Linked DNA regions of Homo sapiens: regions 1 and 2 are each linked to region 3. Evidence: promoter capture Hi-C in human tissues and cell types (Jung and others, 2019). All regions are on one chromosome and are shown on one strand. Each heading gives the region's core, a stretch centred on a gene start or on the middle of the fragment in contact. The rest is flanking DNA. Distances are from core to core; before and after follow the strand shown.

What was found. The method cuts DNA at HindIII sites, captures the fragments that hold promoters and counts their contacts. A contact is called where the count stands out against the background at its distance.
Region 1: a contact is called between a fragment that was not itself captured here and the fragment with the promoter of IPO5 in region 3, in 3 of the 25 tissues and cell types used here (IMR-90 fibroblasts, lymphoblastoid cells and mesenchymal stem cells).
Region 2: a fragment that was not itself captured here is called in contact with the fragment with the promoter of IPO5 in region 3 in 1 of the 25 tissues and cell types used here (lymphoblastoid cells).

The regions. Positions count from the first base shown.
Region 1 is chr13:98,715,284-98,718,580 of GRCh38, reverse strand. It overlaps SLC15A1 (solute carrier family 15 member 1), which reads left to right. Exons shown (of 23, transcript NM_005073.4): 9 at 2,621-2,703. Among named protein-coding and RNA genes, the nearest start is that of SLC15A1, 36 kb to the left of the region's middle. The HindIII fragment of the contact is 3,323 bases long and covers 236-3,297 here.
Region 2 is chr13:98,823,288-98,826,499 of GRCh38, reverse strand. It overlaps DOCK9 (dedicator of cytokinesis 9), which reads left to right. Exons shown (of 53, transcript NM_001366683.2): 45 at 1,996-2,102. Among named protein-coding and RNA genes, the nearest start is that of DOCK9-AS1, 7.2 kb to the left of the region's middle. The HindIII fragment of the contact is 3,286 bases long and covers 227-3,212 here.
Region 3 is chr13:97,951,984-97,955,520 of GRCh38, reverse strand. It overlaps IPO5 (importin 5), which reads right to left and starts at 1,846. Exons shown (of 29, transcript NM_002271.6): 1 at 1,805-1,846; 2 at 1,323-1,402. The HindIII fragment of the contact is 20,218 bases long and covers 1-3,537 here.

The sequences.
Region 1 (3,297 bases), core at 648-3,147, 760 kb before region 3:
CCTCCCAAAGTGCTGGGATTACAGGCATGAGACACAACACCTAGCTGGTTTTTTTGTTGTTGTTTTTGTTTATTTGTTTTGCTTGTTTTTTTAATTAGCTGGGTGCTGTGGCTTATACCTGTAGTCCCAGCTCCTCTGGAAGCTTAAGTGGAAGGATTGCTTGAGCCTGGGAGGTCGAGGCTGCAGTGAGCCATGATTGCACCATAACACTGCAACCTGGATGATAGAGCAAGACCCTGTCTCAAAAAAAAAAAAAAAAAAAAAAAAAAAAAAAAAAAAAGATGAAGGTGATAGAATCTGCTGGATTAGCTGAACCCAAGGCTAAAAGCTTTTGTTCTTGTCAACATGTACGTATCTATAACTTGCTTGAAGAAATGGCAACCTGGTTCAGTTGCCACTGAAACACTCCAATGAACATCTACATTTCCATAATTGATTAGGTTGGTGCCAAAGTAATTGCAGCTCTTGCCATTAAAAGTAATGGCAAAAACCGCAATAACTTTTGCACCAAACTAGTATCACCTCCCCCCGCCCCCCATATGTTTCTACTAGAATTCTTTCCCACTGGACAGAACATATATGTCTATTCGAGGCATTCATTGGCACATTAGTTCTTGGCATTGGCTTTTAGGAAAGGTGGCGTTTTCTACATGGGATGCTTGGATGTGAAAGGTGGCCAAGAACGGTGCAAAAAGAAAACAGCCCAGCGGCCACCTCAACTCTTCAGAGCCCCTTCTCCCACTCAAATGAGGTTGTCATCAGCTTTGCTCAGCTGACAATCACGTCTCTCTCTCCAATTTTTGTTTTCAGATCTTAGTAGTACATGGAATAGGACCGTTTTCAATCTCTTTTGCTCACAGTGTAGCAATTTAGCTTTCCCCTTTCATTTAGGTGAGAGCTCAGTATTCTCCTCTTTTTAATGTCTCTTTTCTTCCATGGTTCTTCCCATACTGCCACCGTCCCCTAGCAGGCTCATTGATACCTCCTCCTCTCTAATTCTTGGCAGGAGACAGAGAGCATTTCCAAAAGTCTTGCTTTACACCAGACACTGTATTAAGCACGTTAGGTACATTGTTATCTCATCTGTACAAGTCATTCCTCTATCAACGATTATGCTTTTTCTTCTGGAGGAATTGAGAACAGGCCAAATCCGATGTGTCAACACTGCCTCTAGAAATTCCTACGCTTGAATTAGGTTTCAGTTAATCAGAAGCTTAAAGATTAAATATTAGTGGTAAAAGAAAACATAGACTCAATCTCTTGGACATCTTTACCATCCATGTCTGCATTCAGAAATGTTGACATTGGGCAAGAATATAAGTAAACATCTCTTTTATCAGCTATAAAGAACATCTATATTATAGGCACATACTTGGAGCTAGCACCTGTCAAAAATCTCAGACCCTCTTAATTGAGAAAAATAAGTAGAATTCAAGCTATCGGTGTTTTTAAATTATTGAACTGTGGTATTGGATAATCAGAAATCCTAGTATATGGACTATGTTTTCAGATATACTTGCAACAATGCTTTAAATTTTTAAAAATTTTTTAATAAGATGATAGAGATAGGATCTCATTATGTTGCCCAGGCTGCTCTTGAACTACTGGTCTCAAGTGATCCTCCTGCCTTGGCCTCCCAAAATGCTGGGATTACAGACATGAGCTGCCACACTCAGCCCTAGAATGGTTTTTTTCTAAGTTATTTTCACAATATGACTTGCCAAAAAGGTCCGTGGAAGAATGACCTCATTGAAAAGGTGCTTCTAACTTTTGTAAAACTGTAGCTGCAGATGCAATTAATTTTAACTGCTTCTGTACAGTGACCACAGAAAAAATTTCTGCCACATATGATTAAGATTAATTCTTTTTTCCTGAATATTAAAAAGAGAAAGAAAAAGGTTTCTCTTCCCATTGCATTCAGAAGATTACAGCTCCATTTATTTTTATTTTTATTATTTTGATATGGAGTTTCACTCTGTCACCGAGACTGGAGTGCAGTGACACGATCTCATTTCACTGCAGCCTCCACCTCCTGGGTTCAAGCAATTCTCCTGCCTCAGCCTCCCGAGTAGCTGGGATTACAGGTGCCCATCACCACACCCAGCTAATTTTTGTGTTTTTAGTAGAGACGGGTTTTCACCATGTTGGTCAGGCTGGTCTCAAACTCCTGACCTCAAGTGATCCGCCCACCTCGGCCTCTCAAAGTACTGGGATTGCAGGCTTGAGCCACCGCGCCTGGCCCCATTTATTGTCTTAGTAGAATAGTACTTTAATGTGTTATATGAAAGTACTGATTCCTTTTGTCTCCCTTTAAATAGAGATAGAACTTGTGCTTAAATAGCTGTGTGAGTGTACGTGAGCTACCTTAAGCTATGGGAAGTAGATGATATTAGGCTTACAGGTTGCATATTAGAAGACAAACCTAACGTTACTCAGAGGTTTTTGTGGATTGTGAGAGTTAAAAGCACTTTCTAAACTGTGAGGTTGGAAGGTAAACCCATTCCATAAGTAATCCCATTATCCCAAAACAAAGTTATAATTCAAATAAAGGCGCATCTCTCTAGGCCACAGGGCGCTCGGTCACATGCTTTGCTGACATGTCTTCTTCTGCCCTATCTAGTTGTGTTTGTCCTTGGCAGTGGGATGTACAAGAAGTTCAAGCCACAGGGCAACATCATGGGTAAAGTGGCCAAGTGCATCGGTGTAAGTATCTCAGCTGCTCTTTCTCAAGGCTATTTAACCACCTCAGAACCTTCTACTTTCTTTAAATTAAAATTTAAGCTTTGACTTTCCTTTAAATATATTTTTAGTGTTCTTAACTGTTTCAGTAAATTGTAGCTTCTTCTAAATGCAAAAAGACACAAACAGAACTTAATAAGGGAAGAATAGAAATGGCTCTTGAGCTTATAAAATAAGATCAATGGTCAAAGAAAAGCAAATCAAAGTGACTCTTCATCTGTCGAAATGGCAGAACAGTGCTTGAGGTTTGTCAGGGAGCAGTGAATCAAAAATGGGGAGGCTCAATTTGGCAATGTGTAGCAAGAGTCTCAGGTGTTCAGTTGCTTCAAGTCAGTCATGCTGCTTTCAAGAATTAAGAGTAAGAAAATAGGCTAGGCACTGTGGCTCATGCCCGTAGTCCCAGCACTTTGGGAGGCCTAGGCGGGCGGATCACTTGATCAGGACTTCGAGGCCAGCCTGGCCAACATGGCAAAACCCTGTCTATACTAAAAATACAAAAATTAGCCAGGCATGGTGGCGGGTGCCTGTAATCCCAGCTACTCTGGAGGGTGAGGCAGG
Region 2 (3,212 bases), core at 620-3,119, 870 kb before region 3:
TTAGGCAATCAAAAAGTTGTAACGGGAGATTATCAGACAGCATTTCTGCAACGCAGCCCAGCTGGCTTTATTGTCTAAGAAGGCAGCCTTTCTGATGGAAACCTTATCTCCCAGAGGAAGGAGAGGGGGCGAGGAGTGACGCTTCATTTGTGCACTCTCCGTTTGTGCCCAGATGAGCAGGCCATGAATTCTTTCACAGTTTCCCTTTGGTTAAACAGCAGGTGCTCATTTCCACTTCAAAATCAGCACAGCCCCAAATGGTGACATTTATTTTTAGAATACTGAGGTTCTTAGAAAAGCTGGTAGTCTGCGTGAGTTACATGGGAGAAAACAGCAGCACCAGATCTGGGCTAATGAGGAATAGATGTACGAAGTGAGAAATAGTGTGAAACCAAAGATGCCGAGGCCACAGACTGTATATTTCTGGTGCAGCTGGCTATTTGGAATGAAACAGCAGAGCCCCAAAGAGAAAAATTTTGAAAGGGCTCCATGTTCATTTAATACCGGTACTATTTCCTGTTGAGACCTTTTATCAGGTGATGCATTTCCTCATGTTTAGAAGCAGTCCAGTGGGAGCCGCCCCTTCTCCCCCACAGCCATAGCGCCTGCCTGAGGAGGAGCCGGGGAGGTGAGCCTGAGGATCAGCCCAGCCCCCGGGGACCCCCTGCCCTGGTCACGTGCCCTCCCGTGGTGGGGGATTTGCCCTTTTAACTTTGCATGGACAGACTTCACTCTCCTTCCCTCCTACTCTGTGGCTCTCTGGTTGGCTGGTCTATTCCTGTGGGCACAAGAGGAAAGCACCTTGGCCACCATTTTTGTTATTCCATTGGCTCCGAGTTATGTGGTGAAATGTACTATATAGCCTAGAGCATGGGTGGTTGGTTTTTTTAATTTTACAGTTTGTATGTTAATGTATCCTCAAGTTCCTAGATTAATGCTTTTCATGGGAGACTCTTGTTTCCATATAACAAAATAAAAACTAAACTGGGATAGTGGCAGATGCTGGATAATCCATGAATAGTGTAGAAACCTGGGATCATGTGCAGCAGAAAAATCTCTGACTTCAGGATCTCCGTTTTCAAGGCTTGATTTCAGAATACCCTGTGTTCCTCTTTCTCCCTAAATGTAGAAGTCTCAATTCAAGTTTTTACTTCTGTTTTATTTTATTGTGAACAGTTATCTCAAAATAGAGTAGTGGAACATCTCATGCCCTTCTTCACTTGATCATTTTGCATAGCTGACGTGGTCCAACTGACTTAAAGCTGTTTTCCAGTGACTCTAAGACGAGGAAAGGTCCCAAATGGGCTGTCATTGCTTAAGAAACACATCCTTATCCCAGACATTGATCCTGCCTCTAAGCTAACACCATTTCCTCTTGGAGAATCAGAGTGCCCAGGCATCCATGCCCTCTGTTGATGCAGCCAGCCACCCACCCCGGGGCCTCTGGGGTGGGAACCAGCTAAGGCAGCCTGTCTGCTCACCATTATGGCTACGAAGCTACACCTGGGTTGTGTGGGGAAGCTCTCATCTGAGAGATGTGTTCTTCCCTGGCCAGAGTGGGTGAGGTGACAGCTTGAAGGAAACAGTTCTTTTTGAATCATACATTTCTCTTATATTGGCTTTGCCTTTGTTTTTCTTAGTATCTCAGCACGAGTCATCCTACCAAGACAAATTTTCACTTATTGTTATTTTACTATTACTTTGATTTAATACCTATTTCTCAGTTTATAGTTTAATATTTAGAGATTGCATACATTTTAATAAAGGTAGATAAAAAGGGATAAGGAAAAGAAAGTGAAAGAGGTTAGGGTTCACTATAGGGAAGAAAAGCACACAGTAGCCCCAGGTACCCCCGTGAATGCTGGCCTGGTGCCTAAGAGATTTCAAAATCCGTTATTTCATTCAACACAGAAACACACAGGGCAGGAAAAACCCTCAGGGTTCACCCACGTTCAGGTTCCTAACTCTGACTGTCCCTCCTTCCTCTCTTCCTAGGCGTGTTTAGACAAGGATGCACCGCCTTCAGGGTCATTACCCCAAACATCGACGAGGAGGCCTCCATGATGGAAGACGTGGGGATGCAGGATGTCCATTTCAACGAGGTGCGTGCTTGAACTCATGTGGGCTTTCAGGTACTGGGGTATCTGGGAGCCTGCTGTTTGCATTGCTAGTGCATCAGACCAGGGCTTTTTCCTCCCTGTAGCTGCTACTTATACACATAGCTCTAACTGAGATGATTCTCCAGACAACTGATGCAGAGCAGCAAAAGCTTCTGCCGTTCTCCCCTTCTAGGAGTGTCTCCTTTCTTTGGAAAGAGATCATGAGGGGCTAGATTGTAATGAAGTGAGGCTCAGTGCTTGAGCACATCCGGTAAAAGTTCCAATATATTGGTCATAAAGTTTCTCATTCTTTATAGCAGTTAATTTCTCTGGCTCATGAGTTTTCTTAGTTTTAATCTGACTTTTAAATTAATGTCTCCAGCACCAGTCATATCCCCAGGGCAAACTCAAAGGCATGAGAGGCCAGACTCGGGTCCTGGTCATAGCAACCCCTGTCTAGGGCCTTGGTCCCTGCCTCCGCTTGTGTGCTGTGGCGCAGGTCCTATGGGCCCTTAGGAAACAGGACCACCCTGTCGCACCCCCTACAGAGACCAGCAAGTTTGACATTAGATCACCGTAGCAATGTCTGCAAATTCCAGTTTCTTGCTAAAACAGGTTAGCCTTGCAGCCACTTATCTGTAACTGGCGAGTTTTGACATAAAACTAGATATTTGAATAAATGCCAGTTTTCTGCTGGCATTCACTCATTCACTCTGTTTCCTTTTCCATGCCTATCTGCCTGAAGGGTTCTTTGTGTGTACCTGCCTCCCTTCAGCCCAGGGCAGAATGAAACAGCTGAGGGAAAGCTTTTTAATCCTGCCCATGTTTTAAGGAAATTGAAGTTGTCCAATTTCTCCCATGGAGTGAAAGAGCAAGCCAAGAAAGGAGTCAGTCTCTTCCGCCTCTGCTGCACCTGCTTCATCCTGATTTCCAGGGCCACAGCGGTGTGGCATACGGTTGATACTGGGGCTTTTAACCATTCTCATGCCAGGGAGGCAGGCCCTTGAACACACATCCTCATGACATGAGCTAGGCCATAAGTCAGTGGTTCTCTAAACATGGTCCTGGAACCTTTCAGTGAGTCTTTGAGGCGGTACTCTTGCTACTGAATGT
Region 3 (3,537 bases), core at 597-3,096:
CTTATATTTCTGCCTGTGTTTTGGAAGTGTTTTCCCCGCTCATTTTCTCCATCAGACAGTGTCATTTATTGTAGCTGCCAACATAAAATGACAACTGTCTCCACTTGTCAGCTGCTCTCATCATCTGGTTTGCTGTGTGCTTTGGAAGGCAGATGACCAAGCATGTATGAACTAGGCACAAGAGTATATGAACTCAGCACAGAGAAGACAGCTGAGGATATTTCCTGTAGAGTAGCATGCATGAACTTTATAAGGTATTTGGCCACTTAGGTATTTTTCTTTTTTTTTTTTCGTGATAGGGTCCCACTCTGTCACCCAGGCTGGAGTGCAGTGGCACAGTCATGGCTCACTGCAGTCTTGACCTCCCCAGCTCAAGGAATCCTCTCACCTCAGCCTCCTGAGTCCCTGGAATTACAGATGCATTCTGCCATAACTGGCTACTTTTTTCTATATTTTGTAGAGACAGGGTCTCACTATGTTGCCTAGGCTGACCTTAAACTCCTAGGCCCAAGTGATCCTCCCACCTCAGCCTCCCAAAGTGCTGGGATTATAGGTGTGAGCCACTGTGCCCGGCCGGTATTTTTCATTTGGAGGTTTATAATTGCATTCCAGAGTTTTAACTCTACTGGAAAGCTAACACAATGTTCCAACACAAATCTGTCTCGCATACTAGTTAGTGTCTTTGAGGTTCCATCACAGACAAATGACGGAAGAAAGCAAAACTGTTTAGGAAGGTCTAAATTAAACATTCTATAATAAAGGCATTAGCATTTGACAAGTCCCTGGTATCTAATACTTTATAAGATGACAATGAGCCTTTTTTACCCCTAGTTAGGGGATTAAGTTCTAGGAGAAGAAGTTAACCAGGTGGTTCCTTAAGTAAGTAATCTTTTGACTACTTAGGGATTGATTTTGTTTTCCCATAATGAAAATGAATTCTGTTTTCCTTCATTTACTTGACTTTAGTGATCTCTGAAAACTAAGATAAAATATACTCGGCCTCTGAGGGAATACAACCATAATGTACAGAAGACAAAATAGATACTCTAAAGATTTTAAATGGAACATCTTGGGATTTGAGAAATTAAAGGCAGTGAAAATCATACTGCTTCTAAGCACTTTTTATTCTCCCTATAGGAAAGCAGGGTAGATAATCCTGATGGGTTGGATTTCAATTAATTGGTGAATAGAAGGTAAAATGATCAAGAAACAGATATCATAATTATAGGAGAAAATAGCAGGAGCTTTTTGTTTTAAAGGAAATAAAGAATAGAATTCACAGTGAAGAGAGACAGAACAAAATCTGATAATTCTAGACTCACTTGAGTGCCGCAAGTATCCTGATCAGGGAAAACAGTTGTGCCTACACATGGGTCCTGGAAAGGCTTCTCCCCGGAACCACCTAAGTGAAATAAAAACTGATTTCTGACTGTTTCAGGATGGCAACACAGACCTTTAGGATAATAACCCACATTCTTTTGGGCAACTCTAATCAAGTGATGCCTCCTTAAGGATACAGAGTTAGTCCCCAGCTCACGTAAGGCACAATACCAAAGAACAATGAGCCATCATGAAATCGTCATTGTTTCATACTTGGTTTTTGTGTAGAATGTTCTCCAAATCATTGTCTCTGACGTTTCCTTCCTCTTGGGTATGACTGTGGTGACGTCAGGAGACGAGCTAAAGGGACCTCCTGGATCTCACAGGGAAACTCTTTCCCTCCAGTATCACGCTAAATTGTTCCTCAGTGCAGATGAAATTCTTAAATGGTTTCATCTGAATGTGAGGTTTTGGGATGACTTACTGTGGTCAGAGCTGTTCCCGGCTGCTCCAGTTGTGGGAGGTCATCAATCCCACAGTTCTGACCTCCTGGCTCAGAGACGTCACCGTGGAGACACCTGGCTGCTATTGTGACACGCAGGAGGTCAGCTGGCTCCTGCTAGTGGGCATTTACACTGCCCACCCTGCCAGCTTCACAGGCCCACACTGCACAGGCATTTAGACGTTACAGGGTAGCCCAAGCTCCCAAAGCTGTGGAAAGGAAAGGGAGCTATCTATTGGCCTTTGAGAACTCAAAACCCATGTTGCTGGGGGCCACTCAGATTGGGTACAAATGTGTCATCAAATTCAGTTTTGAAACTGTCTGAGTAGCTTCTTTACCCACAGATTTTGATTCTATTCACTACTCAATACTGAAAAGAGAAATTGATCTCTCAAATAGACAAAGATAAATTTGTATGGAAACAACAGGAAATTCCATATTACATACGTTTATGTCAACTGGGTTTGTGATTAAATTACTTTTTCTTTTATTTTAGTTGACATGTAATAATTATAAATATTGGCTGGGCGGGGTGGCTCATGCCTGTAATTCCAGCACTTTGGGAGGCCGAGGTGGGAGGATCATTTGAGCTCAGGAGTTCAAGACCAGTCTTGGCAACATGGCAAAACCCCATCTCTATGAAAAATGCAAATATTAGATGCGTGTGGCAGTGCACACCTGTAGTCCCAGCTGCTCAGGAAGCTGAAGTGGGAGGATCATCTGAGCCGGGGGAGGTTGAAGCTGCAGTGAGCTGTGATTGCACCACTGCACTCCAGCCTGGGCAACAGAGTGAGACCTTGTCTCAAAAAATAAACAATAAAAAATTGCAGATATTTATGGGATGTAATTAAATTTTTATATGACAGATTAACATCAATTTTGCCCTGTATTCTCATGGATCTCAATGCCCTAGCTTTGTACATTTAGCTTTTCTTTTTTTTTTGAGACAGATTCTCACTCTGTTGCCCAGGCTGGAGTGCAGTGGCGTGATCTCGGCTCACTGCAACCTCCACCTCCCGGGTTCAAGAAATTCTCCTGCCTCAGCCTCCCAAGTAGCTGGGATTACAGGTGCCCACCACCATGCCCGAATAATTTTTGTATTTTAGTACAGATGGGGTTTCACCACGTTGGCCAGGCTGGTCTTGAACTCCTGACCTCAAGTGATCCATCTGCCTCGGCCTCTCAAAGTGCTGGGATTACAGGCATGATCCCCTGCGCTGGCCTAGCATTTTGTTGTTTTTATTAATTCAGATCATTAATTAAAGCCAAACTCCATTTTTGTAATTATTTATTTCTTTTTTTTTTGATACAGAGTCTCTCTCTGTTGCCCAGGCTGGTGTGATCTCAGCTCACTGCAACCTCTGCCTCTCTGGTTCAAGCGATTCTTCTGCCTCAGCCTCCCAAGTAGCTGGGATTACAGGCACGCGCCACCATGCTCGGCTAATTTTTATATTTTTAGTAGAGACGGGGTTTCACCATGTTAGCCAGGATGGTCTCGATCTCCTGACTTCGTAATCTGCCCACCTTGGCCTCCCAAAGTGCTGGGATTACAGGCATGAGCCAACGCACCCGGCCTATTTTTGATTTTTAAATTGTTTCATAGGACATGGGCAGACTCCTTTGTATAGGTCACATTTTTTTCTTGGTAACGTGTGATGTCTAAGCACTTTCTAGTGTCACCCCGCATATCCTGAAAGTTCTTCAGCACTATTCCT